Linked DNA regions of Homo sapiens: regions 2, 3, 4 and 5 are each linked to region 1. Evidence: promoter capture Hi-C in 16 types of primary human blood cells and fetal thymus (Javierre and others, 2016). All regions are on one chromosome and are shown on one strand. The core of a region is centred on a gene start or on the middle of the fragment in contact, and the rest is flanking DNA. Distances in the headings are between cores, read along the strand shown. Region 1 has its middle 5.2 kb from the start of TNFSF12. Region 2 holds the start of CLEC10A (C-type lectin domain containing 10A). Region 3 holds the start of DLG4 (discs large MAGUK scaffold protein 4). Region 4 holds the start of CTDNEP1 (CTD nuclear envelope phosphatase 1). Region 5 holds the start of SLC2A4 (solute carrier family 2 member 4).

Evidence for each region. Contacts are between HindIII fragments. The CHiCAGO score rates a contact against its expected background, and 5 or more counts as called.
Region 2: a contact is called between the fragment with the promoter of CLEC10A here and a fragment that was not itself captured in region 1, in 1 of 17 cell types (monocytes). The highest score is 6.2, in monocytes.
Region 3: a contact is called between the fragment with the promoter of DLG4 here and a fragment that was not itself captured in region 1, in 2 of 17 cell types (monocytes and naive B cells). The highest score is 5.3, in monocytes.
Region 4: the fragment with the promoter of CTDNEP1 here is called in contact with a fragment that was not itself captured in region 1 in 7 of 17 cell types (total B cells, non-activated CD4 T cells, erythroblasts and 4 more); the score reaches 6.7 in total B cells.
Region 5: the fragment with the promoter of SLC2A4 here is called in contact with a fragment that was not itself captured in region 1 in 2 of 17 cell types (total CD8 T cells and naive CD8 T cells); the score reaches 7.4 in total CD8 T cells.

What each region holds. Positions count from the first base shown.
Region 1 is chr17:7,542,197-7,545,614 of GRCh38, reverse strand. No RefSeq gene overlaps it. Among named protein-coding and RNA genes, the nearest start is that of TNFSF12, 5.2 kb to the left of the region's middle. The HindIII fragment of the contact is 561 bases long and covers 1,601-2,161 here.
Region 2 is chr17:7,078,595-7,082,012 of GRCh38, reverse strand. It overlaps CLEC10A (C-type lectin domain containing 10A), which reads left to right and starts at 1,762. Exons shown (of 9, transcript NM_001330070.2): 1 at 1,762-1,961; 2 at 3,128-3,267. The coding sequence starts at 3,201. The HindIII fragment of the contact is 6,420 bases long and covers 1-3,418 here.
Region 3 is chr17:7,215,868-7,219,285 of GRCh38, reverse strand. It overlaps DLG4 (discs large MAGUK scaffold protein 4), which reads left to right and starts at 1,659. Exons shown (of 20, transcript NM_001321075.3): 1 at 1,659-2,168. The coding sequence starts at 2,139. It also overlaps a transcript of ACADVL not described here. RefSeq lists an enhancer at 3,329-3,418. The HindIII fragment of the contact is 10,481 bases long and covers 1-3,418 here.
Region 4 is chr17:7,249,566-7,252,983 of GRCh38, reverse strand. CTDNEP1 (CTD nuclear envelope phosphatase 1) reads left to right here and starts at 1,250. Exons shown (of 8, transcript NM_001143775.2): 1 at 1,250-1,789. The coding sequence starts at 1,688. It overlaps ELP5 (elongator acetyltransferase complex subunit 5), which reads right to left and starts at 769. Exons shown (of 8, transcript NM_203414.3): 1 at 388-769; 2 at 154-214; 3 at 1-66. The coding sequence starts at 433. RefSeq lists silencers at 113-352, 1,123-1,332, 1,403-1,522 and enhancers at 383-602, 471-1,059, 1,060-1,647. The HindIII fragment of the contact is 9,547 bases long and covers 1-3,418 here.
Region 5 is chr17:7,280,468-7,283,885 of GRCh38, reverse strand. SLC2A4 (solute carrier family 2 member 4) reads right to left here and starts at 2,168. Exons shown (of 11, transcript NM_001042.3): 1 at 1,919-2,168; 2 at 525-641; 3 at 241-413; 4 at 24-148. The coding sequence starts at 1,951. RefSeq lists an enhancer at 935-1,922 and a silencer at 2,055-2,204. The HindIII fragment of the contact is 20,977 bases long and covers 1-3,418 here.

The DNA.
Region 1 (3,418 bases), core at 632-3,131:
GTTTCACCATGTTGGCCAGGCTGGTCTCAAACTCTTGATCTCGTGATCCACCCGCCCTGGCCTCCCAAAGTGCTGGGATTACAGGCATAAGCCACCGCGCCCGGCCTATTTTTTTTTAAGATGGAGTTTCACTCTCATCACTCAGGCTGGAGCGCAATGGTGTGATCTCAGCCCACTGCAACCTCTGCCTCCCGGGTTCAAGCGATTCTCCTGTCTCAGCCTCCTGAGTAGCTGGGATTACAGGCACCCACCACCATGCCAGGCTAATTTTTGTATTTTTGGAAGAGACGGGGTTTCACCATGTTGGTCAGGCTGGTGTCGAACTCCCAACCTCAGGTGATTCACCCGCCTCAGCTTCCCAAAGTGCTGGGATTACAGGCGTGAGCCACTGCACCCAGCCTCTACTTGATTTTTATTATCAGGTGAATGCAGCATTTTAATTTGTAAAAAGAAAAAAATTGTACAGCAGCAAGCGTGCTGAGGAGAGGGAAAGTCATTACTCATCTCAGCCAGCGTGTGATCACACCTGCTAAAGGAAAAAAACAGGGACTGGAGCCTTGGAGACAGCAGATCATCCTCAGATCCTTTAACTTTGGCTTGAAAAATTAATTCAATACACTTAACCTTTTTGTTCTTGGTTTGCGGCCAAAGTTAAAATTAACTTGCATTTTTTAGGACACTGATAGGAAGTAACTTGGGAAACATGCAGGAAAAATACTGAAAGGAAATCTGCTAATATTTTTTATTCCTGCCTTTTTACACTTTTCTTACTTTTCACATTTTCAACCAAGATACTAAAGGAAAAAAAGGCTTTGTCATTTTCTTTTTTGTTTTTCTTTTTGGATATCCAGCTTGATTAGTATCACTTAAATGCAAGGCCATGCCTGGTGGTCACGCCTGTAATCCCAGCATTTTGGGAGGCTGAAGCGTGCAGATCACTTGAGGTCAGGAGTTTGAGACCAGCCTGGCCAACATGGTGAAACCCCGTCTCTACTAAAAATACAAAAATTATCCGGGTGTGGTGACGCATGTCTGTAATCCCCCTTACTCAGGAGACTGAGGCAGGAGAATAGCTTGAACCCAAGAGGCGGAGGTTGCAGTGAGCCGAGATCCCAGCTACTTGGGAGGCTGAGGCAGGAGAATCGCCTGATCCCAGGAGGCAGAGGTCGCAGTGATCTGAGATCGTGCAATTGCACTTTAGCCTGGGTGACAAGAGTGAAACTCCGTCTCAAAAAAAAATCACTTAAATGCAAATAAAGAATTTCACGTAGTCTGTAAGGGTAGGGACTGTGTATGCTTTGCAGGCATTGTATTTCCAGGGTCAGCAAAAGTTTGTTGAATGAATAAATATGGCCTAGCCTTCCCAGTCTGGCAGTGACTACTGAATATGGTGATAGTAGCAGCCTGAGAGTGGACAGTGACCATCCCAGTTTGCCGGGACTAAGGAGGTTCCCAGGATGAGGTACTTTCAATGCTAAAACCAGGACAGTTCTGGAAAAACCAGGATGAGTTGCTAACAGACCCAAGAGAGGACTAAATGCCACCCCCAAGCCACCACCACACTCACTTTTGGTCAAAATTCTTAAGCTTTATTTAAGCTTTAATCAGTCAATCAAACAACTCAAATCCCTGTCCTGGGCTTCTTTCTCTTTCCACTTCTACCTGCCACCTCCGTCTTCCCTAGATGTATGTCTGTCTGTATTTATCTGTTTGTTTGTTTGTTTAGTTATTTATTTATGTGAGACAGGGTCCTGTTATGTTGCCTAGGCTGGTCTCAAATTCCTGGGATCAAGGGATCCTCCTGTCTCAGCCTCCCAAGTAGCTGGGTTTACAGGCGTGTGCCATCATCCTGGGCTCTTCCCCAGACTTTACCTACCTTCTCTTCACTGATGACCCTCCTGTCCTCTTCTCCCCACTTCCCCAGTGAACATGGGCTCCACGTGGTTGGTCATCACCACAGGTCTCTCTCGTACTAAATCCAGCAGATACACCTTGGCCCTCATCTTACTTATTTGCAGCCTCTACGATTGTTTCCCACTCTCATTCTGAAGTCCTCCTTCCTTGGCCTCTTACCATTCTGCCTTCTAGTTTCCTTCACTGGTTATTTTAAGAACATAAATGTGCTATATTTAAGCTGGTTCATTCATTATATTACCAAGCTTGGTATCACAAATAGACTTCATATAGAAATGCTATAATCCTTCCTTCCCCTCCTTCCCTGCCTCCCTCTGTTCCTTCCATCCTTCCATTCCTTTCTTTCATAATAAGATGTTCCAGCTGCACCTTGTACTTCCTCAGCACCAGCCCTGAGATCAGAAGCCATTTCTTCAGGGAACGGTGCCCTTTCACGGAGAAGGATATTTAGCAACTAAGATCTGGGCACCGGGTAAACTCAGCATTCCTGGAAGTGAGGACTTTTAGCAGACAAAGATAGGATAGATACATATTGCATAAGTTCACAAGGACACTCTAATTTTGGTCCAACATCACAACATTCTGCCTCACGTCCCCTGTCCCATATATGTATCCCCTGTGTTAGTCTCGATGACAATGCTGTGTTTCCATCATTGCATTTCTCACAACTCGCACTTCTGGTCTTCCTCCCTCACTCAACCGTGAAGTTCTACTGGTTCAGGGGCCAAGTCTGTCTTGTAGACCATTGTTTCTCTGGTGTCTTGCTTAGTGCCTGACACACAGTAGGCACTTTATGTATTTGTTGAATGAATGGGTGGTCCAAGGGAATTCCCCAGGAGACTCTACCTGGGCCTTCTCTCCCTGGATAGGGGCTCCCTCTGAGCTCCACAGATGCCTGTTTTTGCCCCAGCCACACCACTATCTCATCATGTTACCATCTGGGCTCATCTGACTCTCCTACTCTCATGTCATGAGGGGGGGACCGTGGTTTACTCATCTTTGTTCCCTAGAACCTGGCTAATGCCTTACCATAGTAGTTGCTCAATAAATATTTGTTGCATAGAAGAGTGAATGATTTTGCTCAAATGCCAAAGCCAAGATATGGAAGCACCAGAATTCAAACCTGGGTCTCCAAAATGACATCCTGTCTCCATACCTGTTCCATTCCCCTCTGGACGAAGGAAGAGAGGACCCAGCCTGATAACAGTGCAGGGCTTGGTGGGGTTGCAAGGCTGGGTGGGCAATCCTGAGCCTGACCTGTTTTTTTTTTTTTTTTTTTTTGAGACGAAGTTTTGCTCTTGGTTTTGGTTTTTTTTTTTTTTTTTTTTTTGAGACAGAGTTTCACTCTTGTTGCTCAGGCTGGAGTGCAGTGTTGTGATCGCCATTCACTGCAAACTCCACCTCCCGGGTTCAAGTGATTCTCCTGCCTCAGCCTCCCATGTAGCTGGGATTACAGGCATGCACCACCATGCCTGGCTAATTTTGTATTTTGTATTTTTAATAG
Region 2 (3,418 bases), core at 513-3,012, 460 kb after region 1:
ACAATGTCAAAATGTTGATTATCTCCAAATTAATATGTGAATACACTGCAAGACTGTGGTAGACACACAGAGAGCTACCCAGGTCCCCCTTCTAGGAAGGATGTGGTGACCCACTGTGGGGAGTGTAACCTGCAGACAGCTGCTTCCTGAGGTCACACCCATGTCAGGGCTGACTGCCAGTGACCGAAGGAGCTGGTGCTCTACAGGACCCTGTGGCAGTCCAATGCTGGACAGCTCCCGGGGGTGGCATTGTTTGAACCCAGAGCTCCCTGTTGGTTTGGTTGAAGCTCTCCAAAGTGCTGGGCTTCTCCCTCTGCCCAGCACCATTTCATCCACTTTCCTTTTCGAAGTGCTAATCCCTAATAAATAGCTTGTACCCCAAATTCAGCCTCAACCTTGGCTTCCAAAAACCGAACCTGCGACATATACTAATCAAAATACCGAATACCAAATAAAAACAAAACTGGCAACGACCTGGCCGGGTGCGGTGGCTCGCGCCTGTAATCCCTGCACTTTGGGAGGCTGAGGCGGGCAGATCATGTGAGGTCAGGAGGTCAAGACCAGCCTGGCCAATATGGTGAAACCCCTCTCTACTAAAAATACAAGAATTAGCTGGGTGTGGTGGCGGGACCTGTAATCTCGGCTACTCGGGAGGCTGAGGCAGGAGAATCGCTTAAACCCAGGAGATGCAGTAGCCGAGATTGTGTCACTGCACTCCAGCCTGGGCAACAGAGTGAGACTCTGTCTCAAAAAAATAAATAAATAAATAAAATAAAAAAGAAAAGAAAAAGAAACAACTTAAATTTCTGATTTATTTCTGTCAATAGAGAAATGCTAAATAAATAAATTACGGTGCCTATGATGAAATGAGGTGCAGGTAGATCAAGTACATTTTATAAACTGATGTGGAGAAATGTTCCTGATAGCTTGTTAACTCCAAAAAAAAAAAAAAAAAGCACATAGCAGAACACAACCCCATGTACATACAAAATATAACCTAAAATGTATTTCTTCTCCTTCTCCACCTTGTAAGATACTCAGTTTCCTTCCTACTGAAAGGGATGTGCGCGTGGATTCAGGGCAGCTCCCTTAGGGGTTGAGCAGGGATCATGGGATGAAATGGAATCCTGTTCATGAAGACAGCGCCTGTGCTGAGAGCCAGAGCAGGGTGCCAAACTGTCTCCTTACAAGCTGTGAGTGATCTTGGGCTCTGAGCCTTTAGTCCGTCATCCAAAATGCCTCCCCAGGTGCTTGGGGGGAATGGTTGTGGAAGGTAAATGTCTGGCATAATCCTATCACAGATTACTCAATAAAATTTGCTCTTTTCCTTGGCTTCTCCCGTCCTATTAGGGCCAAGAAGTTCTATTCTCTGGCACCCCCTTCCCTCCTTCCGAGTGGAGTGAGGCGAGCGAGGCCACAGCTGAGCAGCCGAATGACTGGGACCCAGAGGATGCTGATGCCAGGGACTCAGGCCAGGATTGAGCAAGAGAACAGACTGGGCTTCTCTAGGATCAGAGGTGCGATGATGGAGACCCAACAATTCTGGGAAATGTAGAGGCAGGAAGTGAAAGGAAGTGTAGGGTAGAGGAGCAACAGCAGATTGTACCTCTGATCCAGCCCTGCTCCCAGATGGTAAAAATGAGGAAGCTCCGAGAAGAGGAAAGGAAGTAGGCATGGCCTGGAGGAGGAGAACAGAGCTGGCCTCAAACCCAACTCTCCCCACCCACACATGGTCTCTGTGTGTTCTAATCCCTGTTCATTCTCATTTACTGTCTAAAGTTGAGGAGATGGGATGTCCCAGATGATAGGGCTCCTGGGATTTCAGACCCAAGACCAGCAGGACTCCAGTCACCTCTACCCCAGCTCTCCAGGACACAGCGCTCCCAACTCTGAGTGACGTCCCACCTCTGGTCCTTGCAGCACAACCAACGTGGGAATCACACCCTCCAGACCTCCCACAGGTAATGGTGCTGCCGGTGCCGGTGAGACCCAGGGGACAGGGGATGTCAGAGGAAGCAGGGAGAGGGGGACTTTGGGTCTTGGGTGGGACTAAATGAAAATAAATATAAGGCGGCAGTGTGGGGTTTAATTACTACGTGGAGATTTGAGACTCTGTTCCCTTCACTGGATTCTAGATTGGGTTACGGCAGCCACAATCCCCTGTCATAAACTAAGACTCCGGGAGCTGAGGCAGGAGAATCTTGTGAACCCAGGAGGCAGAGGTTGCAGTGAGCCGAGACGGCCTCGTTGCACAACAGCCTGGGCGACAAGAACGAAATTCCATCTCAAAAAATAAATAAATAAAAATAAAAATAAACTAAGACTCAGACTCAGCCTCATTGGTGGCCCATTTCCAGCCTTATCTTCATCTCAGCCCAGCCATGCCCTAATCCCAATACTAACCCCAGCTTCTACATTTTCTTTTTTTTTGAGACTGAGTCTCACTGTGTCGTCCAGGCTGGAGTGCAACGGCACAACCTCGGCTCACTGCCACCTCTGCCTCCTGGGTTCAAGTGATTCTCCTGCCTCAGCCTCCCAAGTAGCTGGGATTACAGGCGCACACCACCACACCCAGCTAATTTTTGTATTTTTAGTAGAGATGGGGTTTCACCATGTTGGCCAGGCCGGTCTCAAACTCCTGACCTAAAGTGATCTGTCTGCTTCGGTCTCCCAAAGTGCTGGGATTTATAGGCGTGAGCCACCGCACCTGTCGCCCCCCACCCAGCTCCTACTTCAACCCCAACCCCAGAATCAACTTGAATTTTAACACCAGCCCAAAGCCAAAATTGAACCTCGACTCTATTCTGTTTCCAAATTCACCACCAAAGTTAACCCCAATTCCATCCATGGCTCCAACGTGCATACTGACCCCAATCCTAGCATGAGATACAACCTCCAGTCCTGCCTGATTAACTGGCCCACTGGGTAGTCCTAGCAATGCGTTTAGCTCCAACGTTACCCTCCAGTTTCACTCCCAAACTCAACTCGACCCCAATTCTAACTCGACTGCAAACCCAGGCTCATTTCCGTCTTAACCCTGGGCTCATTCTCAACCTGAGCCTCATCTCCCAACTCAACGTCAGCCCTGCCCTTGGCTCCAACTTAGTCCCAACCTCCTATTCCCCAGCTCCACCCCAGACTGGGCGCCGGCCCTGCCTCCATTTCAGCTGTGACAACCTCAGAGCCGTGTTGGCCCAAGCATGACAAGGACGTATGAAAACTTCCAGTACTTGGAGAATAAGGTGAAAGTCCAGGGGTTTAAAAATGGTAAGAGGAAAGGGGAAACTCTCCTAAAATGCCCTCTTTATATGTTTAGAAGGATTTCTCCTATCATTTCTGTACCTCCACCACGCGCACTGGTGGGTCCTAACTCTGAGGAGGTCAGGCCCCAGCCTCTGACGGGCCTAGTGTGAAGAGG
Region 3 (3,418 bases), core at 410-2,909, 330 kb after region 1:
TTCCTCCCGGGCCTGAGAGGAACTGCAGGAATTCTCCTGCCTCTTACCCGTAAAACCCCAACTTCTCTAGCCCTAGGGCAGGAAGTCCCAAACAATTTCTACCCCTTTTTCTGCAATTCTCATTGGGGTGAGAGGAGGCCCAGGAGGAGAGAGAGCTGGGCTCAGCTTCTTTTTGAGCTGCTGGAGCCCTCTGTGAGGAGGCCCTCTTTGCTGGCTTCTCAGGAGAGCGTGGCTAGGTTCTGCCTGCCTATGGGAAGAGGGGGCCAGGGTGTGTGGAGCAAGATGGTGGCGGTGCTGGTGCCTTGGGACCTGGGGGAATGGGACAGCTGGTCGGCTCAGAGACGGCCTACTTTACTCACAGCTGGAATTTAGTGGGGAGAAGCAGCTCAACTCCAATCCTGGAGGATTAGGGAGATTAAAGTGAGAGAAGAGAGAGATGTCCCAGAGACCAAGAGGTGAAAAACAGGGCTCCTTGTGGAGGGGAGGTCTGGGAGCGAAGTGGGGGGCTGGGGCTCGGAGATCCTTCTCCCCAAATCTTTCCGTAGGGGCTGGGGTGAAGGGCACAGTCTGGGGAGATGAAGTGACAGTGTGTTCATCTTCCTGTGTTGGCATCTTCCCTGTCCCAATTCTCCTTGCATCTCACTAGCTCCCAGGTCAGCCCTCTGGCTCCTGGCACCCCCACTGCTGCGGTGGGCACCCCCACTCCTCACAGTGCTGCATAGCGACCTCTTCCAGGCCTTGCTGGGTGAGTAGCCCGTTTTCTGAGGGACCTGGGCCTCCAAGGGCCATTACTGAACTTCGGGGGCTGTTTGGGAGCCCAGAGATCATTTGGTCCAAGCTGGAGCACCATGCAGGGTCCTGCCTATGGTGTCCTCCATGAGTGTGGACCAGCCTTGGCTGAAAGGGCTCCTCCCTTGCCAGCCAGCCAGCAGCGGTGATGACAGGGGTGATGTGCCTGGAGAGGCCTGGGGTGGGGAGGTAACTCAGTTCTGTTCCTGTGACAGACATCCTGGACTATTATGAGGCTTCCCTCTCAGAGAGTCAGGTAAGGAGGTGGGGGCGAGCGCCTAACTTCCTGAGGGGCAGGCAGGGCTGGAGGGGTGAGCCAAATATCACTAATATTACCTGGAATCTTGGGGGCCCTGCTGACAAAAGCCTGAGTCAGTGGCCCAGGGACTTGGGGCACCGAGAATGCACTCTCTGTGGTCCTGTACCCACTCTCCCTTTCTTCCTCGTTTTCTTTGGCTGCCCCAGTTTCAGGCACTAAAGAGTCTAGGGCTTAACTTTTTAGGTTTCCCCCTGAGAAACCTGAGGGAGAACTAGGCCCCCAGGGATTGCCTCCTTCAGCTCCTCCCTCACACCCGACCCCCTACCGCCTGCCGAGAGGCCTCCCTCCCGTATTCAAATAACCGTGGGTGCTCCCAGCCCAACTATAGATGCTTCCTTCTCTAAGAAATGAAATCCAGCCTCATCGTCTTTGCTGTCATCGCTGGTGGCTGGCCAGGTCTCCATGTTTGCCTCAGGGGCCTCTGTGCTTCTGCTTCTATCTCCTTTCCCATTATCCGGGTTCCTGCCAGCACAGAAGGAGTTAACTCTGCCAAGGCACCCCCCCCATTCTGGCTCCTAGCTCCCTCCCTCCCTCCCCCTGCTTCCTCTCTCCTCCTCTCTCCCCTTCCCTCTTCGGCTCCACGGCTCCCTCGGCCGCTGCCGTTTCCAACCCCCCCACCCCACTCCCCCGCCACGGCCCCTAGCCCCTGGCCGTTTGGCAAGACCCCCCCCTACCCCGGGGCTCCCCGAAATCCAGTTCCCCTCCCCCACCCCAGCTCATGCCCCAGCCCCCGAACTCCGGGGCTGCCAGCCCCCGGTGCCCCCGCCCCTCCTGAGAATCGGGGTGTGCTCCCCAAGCCCCCTCCCCTCCACTGGGGAGCCCCTTTTAGGGCCCCCTTCCCCTCCCTCCCACGCTCCCCTCCCCTTCCCTTCTCCAACCCCCTCCTTCCCCTCTCACCCCTCCCCCCATCCTGGCCCCCCCTGCAAAAGTGGGGTGCGGAGGGGGGAGGGGTGAGAACCCACGGAGGGGAGGAACGAAACTCCGATGAAGTCAGAGCCCCTTACCCGCCGCCGCGGCCAGGCCCCCCAACATGGACTGTCTCTGTATAGTGACAACCAAGGTAAGCATGATGGGGGGGCTATAAACTGGGGGGAGGGTATGAGTTTGTGGGGAGGGGTTAGTAGGCCTTATCTGGGACTGGCGCCCCTGGAGTGGCAGCATCAGAAGTAAGATGTATTTGGGGGTCTTAATTTAGTTTTGGGGTTCACATCTGAGAAAATGCAGGATTTGGCCACAGGTGCCCCCTGGAGTGATCCCTTTGTACCTGTAGGGATATGGAAAATTTAGGATATTCCATGGTTCGGGGGGCCTGGCGGGTTTGGGGGTTCATCAGCGCTGTTTGAGGGAGACTTATTTAAGGAGAAGCCTGGCTCATAAGGGAGTCCTGCTGGTGTATGTGGGAAGGTGGGCTATGTTGGGGGGTTCCTCTTTCCTCCCCAGGGAAAAGCTGGCTTCCAAGGGCCTTGTCCAGTTTTGGGGGGCTCCTGGCATGGGGTAAAGGTTATTGGTTGTGAGTGCCTGACTGATCTGGGGGTGTCAGCTGGCAGGGAAGGGGTGGGCCTTCAGACTCTAGAACAAGCATCTCGTGGTGGCTGCATTTAGGGATGCTCTCTCAATTTGAGGGAACTGTTAATTTAGGGTTCAGTCATATAGAATGGAGGTAGTTGGAAGTTGTCAGAGGGCTGGGGCCCTGGCATGGGATCACCTGAGGGAATGGACCAGGTGAGGCAAGGATTTGGGGGTACTCCCATAGGAGGCAGAAGATTGCAGCAGCCGAGCTTGCCAGCCCCTGAGGAGGAGGATGAGAGGCTTAGGGAGAGAGGGGATTTGAGGAGGGGGACCGGGTGGGTGGTGCACAATTTGGGGGTGGCCCAAAGGCAGGTGCCCAATATCCCCATCTCCTCCCACACTGTATCTAGCCCTGATCAAGAGAGAGGGAGAAGAGCAGATGTGGGGACTGTTCCAGATACCCCTGACGCTTGGGATCAAGGTGGGGGAGGACACCTGGATTTAAGGGTCCCTGAGGGCTTATGACCGAAGTTACTGAGGTTACTGGGGTGAAAAGGTGTAGGAGGAGGGCAGGGCTGGCAGCGATGGGGATCTGTGCAAGAGTGTCCCTCTGGTTGGAGCCTGGCAAAGGCAGGAGATCTCGGATGGAGCACAGGCGAGCTCCTGGTGGGATGCAGATACCTAGGCTCTCCTTGGAGACTCTGGGACTGGAGAGCTGGATGCCTGGTGTGTGGAGGGAGGCTTGGGCGGGTGGCAGGCAGCTGGGGGCTGGGGGGTGGGACAGGAAGTGGGGGCCGGGGG
Region 4 (3,418 bases), core at 1-2,500, 290 kb after region 1:
GAGTCAAAACCTTCACGAAACTCTTCCTCGCTCACTTCACAGCCCAGGATATGCACTTGCTCCCCACTAAGGCAGAGATGAGAAGGGATTGTCAAAGAGTGGGCACAGGTGCCCTATCCAGGGTAGGCCGGGGAGACACTGTGGGATACTCACCACAGTGCAGATTTCTTGACAAGCGCCTTCAAGAGACTGCGCCCCTCCCACTCCACGGAATCTGCAGAGCGAGGGACGGATAAAGGGTATGAGAGCGCTGGGATTACCGCCTTCGCGAACCCGTCGCGATTTCCACACCTAGCCTGTGACCCCTGGCCCTTCCTGCCCACTTCCGTCCCCTCAGCCAGGCCCGAACCGCACCCCCCGCCCCGCCACCGTGCCTCTGGCTCTCACCCCGAAGCAGCACCAGGCCGCCCAAGGCCAACAGCGAGTCCAACATCTCCAACTCGCGTCCGGTCCCTGCTCTGGCGCCCTCTGATGGCGTCATGACCCAGTGTCCTTCCTCCTCGGGGTGAAACGGGCCGAGCACTCGGGCGTCCTCCCACCATTAAGACCTAACATAGTCTGGAATGAGAGGTGATTATGTTCAATATTCCCAGGGGGGCGCTCACGCGGAGGGCGCCCCTCCCCGAGCCCTGGCGCACAGTCGTACGGACAACGACCCCGTCTACATTTTCACTGTGACCGGGGCGGGAAGAGCAGTTGGGGCAGTTGTCAGTGGGAGGGGGAGGAGGACCCACAAGCCCCCCGCGAGGGCCCTAAGCGCGGGCCAAGTGACGTCACTCTCCCCGCCCACGCAGTTTGAGGCGGGGCCTGCTTCGCCTCAGGCCCCGCCCCGCGGCCACCTTCTGCGCGTGCGCAATACTGCAGCCTCGCTTGGAGTGCTTTTGGCTTTCCTTATACCTACCCGCCATAGACCGCGCAGGAGGAACTTAGTCCCGGTGAAGCGAATACACGTCACCACCGGAAGTAGTGTCAAAGGGGAAGAGGAGGGGGAAAGACAGGAAGAGGGAGTCCTTTGGACGGTAAAATGGCGCCTGTCAGAGTGGGAAACCCAGCTGCAGAGGCTGCAGCCCCGGTCCCCAGCGGCTAAAGGACCCCCGAGCTCGGGGAGGGGGAGGCCGCTCCGGCCCAGCGCTCTGCGCCCTCCGGCTCCCCCTCCCCCTCCTTCCCTGCTCCTTCGCTCTGCAGGCCCGTTCTCCGCTGCCGCGGCCCTTTGCGCGCCGCTGCCCCCGCCCTCCCCGTTCCTGCGAGCAGCCCCCTAGCGCGCCTGCGCAGCGGGCCACTCTCTGCTTTCCCCCCCTCCCCTTCCCTTTTCCCTTCCTCCCTTTTCCCTAGCCCCCTCCCCCACTGCCCCCTCCCCCAATTATCCTTCCCCTTCCCTCCAGGTCTCGGAGGACCCCATCCTAGCCCTACCTGTCTCGGCCCGCAACCTCCCCGAAGCCGTCGGTGCCACTCCCAGCCCATGTGGGCCCCCGCGGGCTGCCCACGCCTGTCCCCCAGCTCCCCGTTCCGCTGGGCTTTACCCTCGCCAGGGGTGGCTTTCTGAGCCGCCCGCTCCGTGCCCCTCTCTGCAGCCTCTCCTGCCACTCGGGGCCCCCGTTCCCCCTCCCGGCGGCGGGGGGCTGCCCCCGGGGGGCTGGCGGAGCTGGGCCGCGGGGGCCCCGGGGCCGGCGGTGCCGGGGTCATCGGGATGATGCGGACGCAGTGTCTGCTGGGGCTGCGCACGTTCGTGGCCTTCGCCGCCAAGCTCTGGAGCTTCTTCATTTACCTTCTGCGGAGGCAGATCCGCACGGTGAGCCAGGGTGGGCGCTGGCGGTGTTGGGGACGTCTGGCGGTGTTGGGGACATCTGTCCGTGGTGCTCAGGGGTTTTCGGAGTGTCGGGCCTCTGTTTGGGCCTAGGAAGGGAATCCTGGCTGGGGCTTTTCTCGCCAGAGAATTGGGCACCCTAAGCGGGGCGAGGTGGGAGACCCTTGTAATAGAACCTTGCCCTTGGGGGTTTTGATGGGGCTAGATGGGACAGGATTTGGCAACTCTTGGGGGCTAAGGTGGTGGGTGGGGCGCTCTTTAAGAAAGCTGGAGTTGTTGCTAAAGAAACCAAGAGGCGGGGAACACCTGTTTGATGACAGCCGGATCTGTGGATGTGGGCTTGGGAAAGACCCTATTTGGAACCTCGGTGTGTGTTTGGTCCTATAACAAGGAAGAGACAGACTTGTGTGTCAAGGGTGGAGGTGGGTGGGAGGGCATACGTTACAAACAAGGACGGGAACTTGGGAAAGCCCTGGGTGTGAAGGAGAAACGCCTGCGGTTCCCATTAAGAGAATTCCTCCAAAAAGGCTGTGAAAATTTATTTCATAGTGTGAGTGTAGGTATCTGGATTTATTGAAGACTAAAGCAGATGCTTTTACGATGGGCCTCTTTAATTGTGGGAGGGAGTTCAAGGTGGGTGCTGTGCCCACCATTGAAGTTTGGGTGTCCCTGTCAGAGGACAGCGCTGGGCAGTTGTAGGGCTTGAAAATGAGGACGTTTGCTTCTCCAGGAGAGCCTAGCATTCTGAGGGAAACTGTCCGGATGGACCCAAGCATCTCTGGGTCCCCTCTCCCTTAGCTTTTCTCCAAGGTCAGAGGTCCTTCAGCTAACAGCACTTTAAATGAATGTGCTCTTGTGGTCTCACCACCACCAGGGAGAATCCTCGGAAGGAGTCTGGGGAGAATTTAGTAAGCGGAGACACAGGTTCTGGGTCTGTACTGTGGTCTGTACCCCTTAGCATACCTCAATACAATTTGAAAGAATAAACCCAGGTTGGGGTGACCTGGGGTCCAGAGAATTTCCAGAAAGCCCTCAGTGGTAGTGGTGGTTGATTTAACTGATTTGGGAGAATGGGTCTGGCCTTGGGTTCATTCTGTCCTTTACCAGTCTGCTTCCACTTCCTGATTTAGGGCGCGAACAGTACAGGATGGTTGTGGCTGTAGGCAGCAGCGCTATTCCCCCGAGACAAGAGCTAGGAGCCAAGAAAAATTTAGGGTCAGAGATGCTGGGATATGTGTGGGGCTATCTCCTGGGGTTTTCTTTTCTTTTCTGAGACAGTCTCGCTTTGTCGCCCAGGCTGGAGTGCAGTGGTGCCATCTCCGCTCACTGCAACCTCCACTTCCTGGGTTCAAGCGATTCTCCTGCTTCAGCCTCTCGAATAGCTGGGATTACAGGCACCTGCCACCACACCTGGCTAATTTTTGTAATTTTAGTAGAAACGGGTTTTCACCATGTTGGCCAGGATGGTCTCAAACTCCTGACCTCAAGTGATCTGCCCGCCTTGGCCTCACAAAAGTACTGGGATTGAGCCACTGCACCCGGCCTCCAGCGGTTTTCTTTATGGGTTGACTGCCATCTTCTCTGACGTTCTCGCTCCAACACATCAGTTTTCTG
Region 5 (3,418 bases), core at 919-3,418, 260 kb after region 1:
AGGGCTGTGGTGCCCGTGAGTACCTGAGTAGGCGCCAATGAGGAATCGTCCAAGGATGAGCATTTCATAGGAGGCAGCAGCATTGGCCAGGCCCATGAGGCTGCCCCCCAGCACCGCCAGGACATTGTTGACCAGCATGGCCCTTTTCCTGGCAGGCAGACAGAGTGAGGCTGTGAGGGTGAGGGCACCCAGCAGTGGCTCCCTTCCTGTTTCCCCCACCCCTGCCCTCCAGCTGCGAACCTTCCAAGCCACTGAGAGATGATACCAATGAGGAAGGAGGAAATCATGCCGCCCACGGAAAAGATGGCCACGGAGAGGGCCCAGAGGGTGGTGAGGGTGCCTGGAGGGATGGAGCTGGGTCCCTCAGGCCCCTGCCTCCCCAGCCACGTCTCATTGTAGCTCTGTTCAATCACCTGGGGGACAGCAGAGGACAGATTTCCTGCAGACCGTCCCCTTTCCACCACCCCCGAGACACCTGTCCTCCTCGTTTGGGTACCCCCACCCTGCCAGCTGCAGGCCCTCACCTTCTGAGGGGCATTGATGACCCCAATGTTGTACCCAAACTGCAGGGAGCCAAGCACCGCAGAGAACACAGCAAGGACCAGGGTCCCAGTCACTCGCTGCTGAGGGGGTTCCCCATCCTGAACAGGCAGACACAAAGACACAGCATGTCACATGGAACCATGATTTTTTTCCTTCCGCTAGGGGCCCGGGCCCAGCTGGAGCCTGAAGATACTGGGCTCCACCCAACATGTTGGGTGAGGGAAACTGGGCCATATTAGGAATTGCACAAAGATCTCAATGTAAACAGGAGCTGAACTGCAACCTGGGCATAAAGGAGAAACTGGATGTTTGGGTCCATAAGGCAGAGAAATGTTTGAGAACTTGTCTCAAAATTCTTCTGTGACCTTGAGACAGGCTTGGCCTTAAGAGCTCAGATTTGTGTGACCTTGGCCAAGTCACTTCCCTGCCCCGAACCTGAGTGTCCTCTGTGAGATGGGGGTGATGTTGCCTGCCTTGCCTACCTATCTGTGAGAGTGTTGTGAAAATCAACATCACATGTTAACAATATCCTTGACAGTGCTGGTTTCATAAATTAACACGTGCATTATTATCATCAGCCACTGTCCTCTTCCCTCCCCTCTGGGGGTTCTGTCAGCCAGCTCCAGGAGGCCCCCAACAGGACCAAGAAGTGCTGTTCCAGAAAGGACATCCCGGTCATCTAGGGGTGGCCTTCTCTATCTACGTCGTGGCCTGCCCTCCCCCTCTAACCTCCGTGCAGGGAGGGCCGTCCAGGGGTTCTGCCTGGGAGAGCCATGCCCAGGGGAGGAGGGCAGGAAGGTAGTGTGAGGGGCGGTGGCAGTGGTGGCCGCTCGCTGGCGGCACAGACTGTCTCCAAGCGGAAACCTGAGCTGGAGGAGGGGGGGCTGACAGTCCCCTCTGCCCCTCCACCAACCATGGGGCCAAGGGAAAGTTCAGCGTCCTGGAGGGCGGCCAGGAGTGGGGGTGGGGGCCCACGGAGAGCCTCCGGTCCTCGAAACACTGCCCGTGAGCGAAGACGGACGGACAGCTCCCGGAGGGCAAGACCCGCCTGGATCTGCTTTCCCGAGTCGGATCGAGGGCAGGGTGTCCCCGATTCCGGAGCGCCGCGCCGCCTACTAGGCAAGGGGGTGAACCCTGGCTCGCAGAATCCACTTGCTGCCTGTGCCCCGAAAGGCCCTCCAGACCCACTCTGCCTTTTGGTAGGATTGGAATCTCACAGTCACGGGTTGTCCAGGCCGGGTATAAATAGCCAGCCCCCTACCTTCACCCCCTGCGCCTGCGCAGGAACCACCCCCAGCTGACCCCAACCGCGACCCCAGCCCAAGAAAAGCGGGACCCGTGCCCCCCCGCCCCGCCCCCTCATGATGAATCCTACTTCGGAGCCTATCTGTTGGAAGCCCGACGGCATCTCGTCTTAGAAGAGCTGGACGCGCAGGGGCGGCGAAGATGAAAGAACCGATCCTGGAGTCTCTGACTCCGGCCTGGAGCGCAGAACCTGCGGAGGCCGCGGGGGTCCCGGAGTGACGTGCGAGGGCGGGCCCGATGGGACCCACAGCCACAAGCCAAGGACCCGGAGAGCAGTGGGGCTCCCGCGGATCTGGTGGAGCGGGGCTGGGGGAAAAGACGCGAGAAGCCCCCGCCACCTCGCTCCTGCCCCCGCGGGCCACGCCCTTCACAGCACCCATTGGCCAGGAGCCCGCACACCCCAGAAGGCCACGCCCCCTCCGCCTGGGGTTTAGAGTTTGGCTGGAGTTGGTGGGGCGGGCCAATGAGGCCACGCCCCTCCGCGTGGCTGGCGAGACACGCCTCTCGGGTTCCCGCCAGCCTCCGACTGGGAAGTTTTGAGAAAAGAGTCCCTGGAACAAAAGGCCCCGCCCACCCACGTGTTAGGACTCCGCCCACCAGCTAGGATCCCGGGCTGCAGAAGCATCTTAAACTCTGCGGGTCTGGACAGTGGGGTCTGAGAGGAGAGGACGGGCCAGGTGTACTTGCCCCGGGGAAACTCCAGCGGCCTGAGACGGCTCGCGAGCCGGCGCGCGGGTTGGGAGAGGAGCAATGCCCCAAAGTAACCCGGGGCTGCTATTTTTAGCTCCCACGTTGGGAGCCTCCAAATGTCAGGTCCCGGGCGTCCCGGCCTGTCCCAGGCGGGGGCGGAGAGACAGGGAGATGACGCCTTAAAGAGTCCGCGACATGCTTCCCACGCGAGTGTGGCCCTGGGGGCCAGGAAATTCCGTTCCCACAACGGGTCTGGTGGCCGGGCTGCTTGGTCCTGTCTTTCAGCGCCTCCCTGCTCCGGGCACTGTCTATCCCGCCCTTCCCCTACACACATTCCCCAGGTTGGTTCCTGGAGCCGGTCCGAGGGACAAGTGGTCACAACCGACCACACCACCAGCCCTGAGGTCTCTGAGCCTCTGAGGTCTCTGAGCATATGCTGGCCGCGTGAACGACACGCTCTCTGGAGGCTGCTCCGGGTTTGGATCCTCGGCCAAATTCTGCCAGGCAGAAAGTGCGCGACCTAGGGTCGGCGTGTGGGGAGAGAGAAGCCGAAATACCCAGAGCGTGGAGAGTGTCTGGCTCAGAAAACGGGCTTCGGAAGCGCAGGGTTGTGCTGCCACCTGGAGGGCGAGCGAGGAGCCGCAGTGGATTGCACTTGGAATCTCAACCCACTATTTCTCGCCTTTCCGCCACCATAGGGCTTCAGTGACATCTGACCCAGGCCCTTCTCTGGAGCTGCAGATCCAGGTGTTCGTTACCGCCCGGATGTGGCAGCTCTAGTGATCAGCATGTCCAAACCTGCTCCTCCTCCTAACTTCCTTATTTCAATGAATTACCCGCCCAGTCACCCCTATGGTAGAAGTCAGGCTCGATTCCTCCT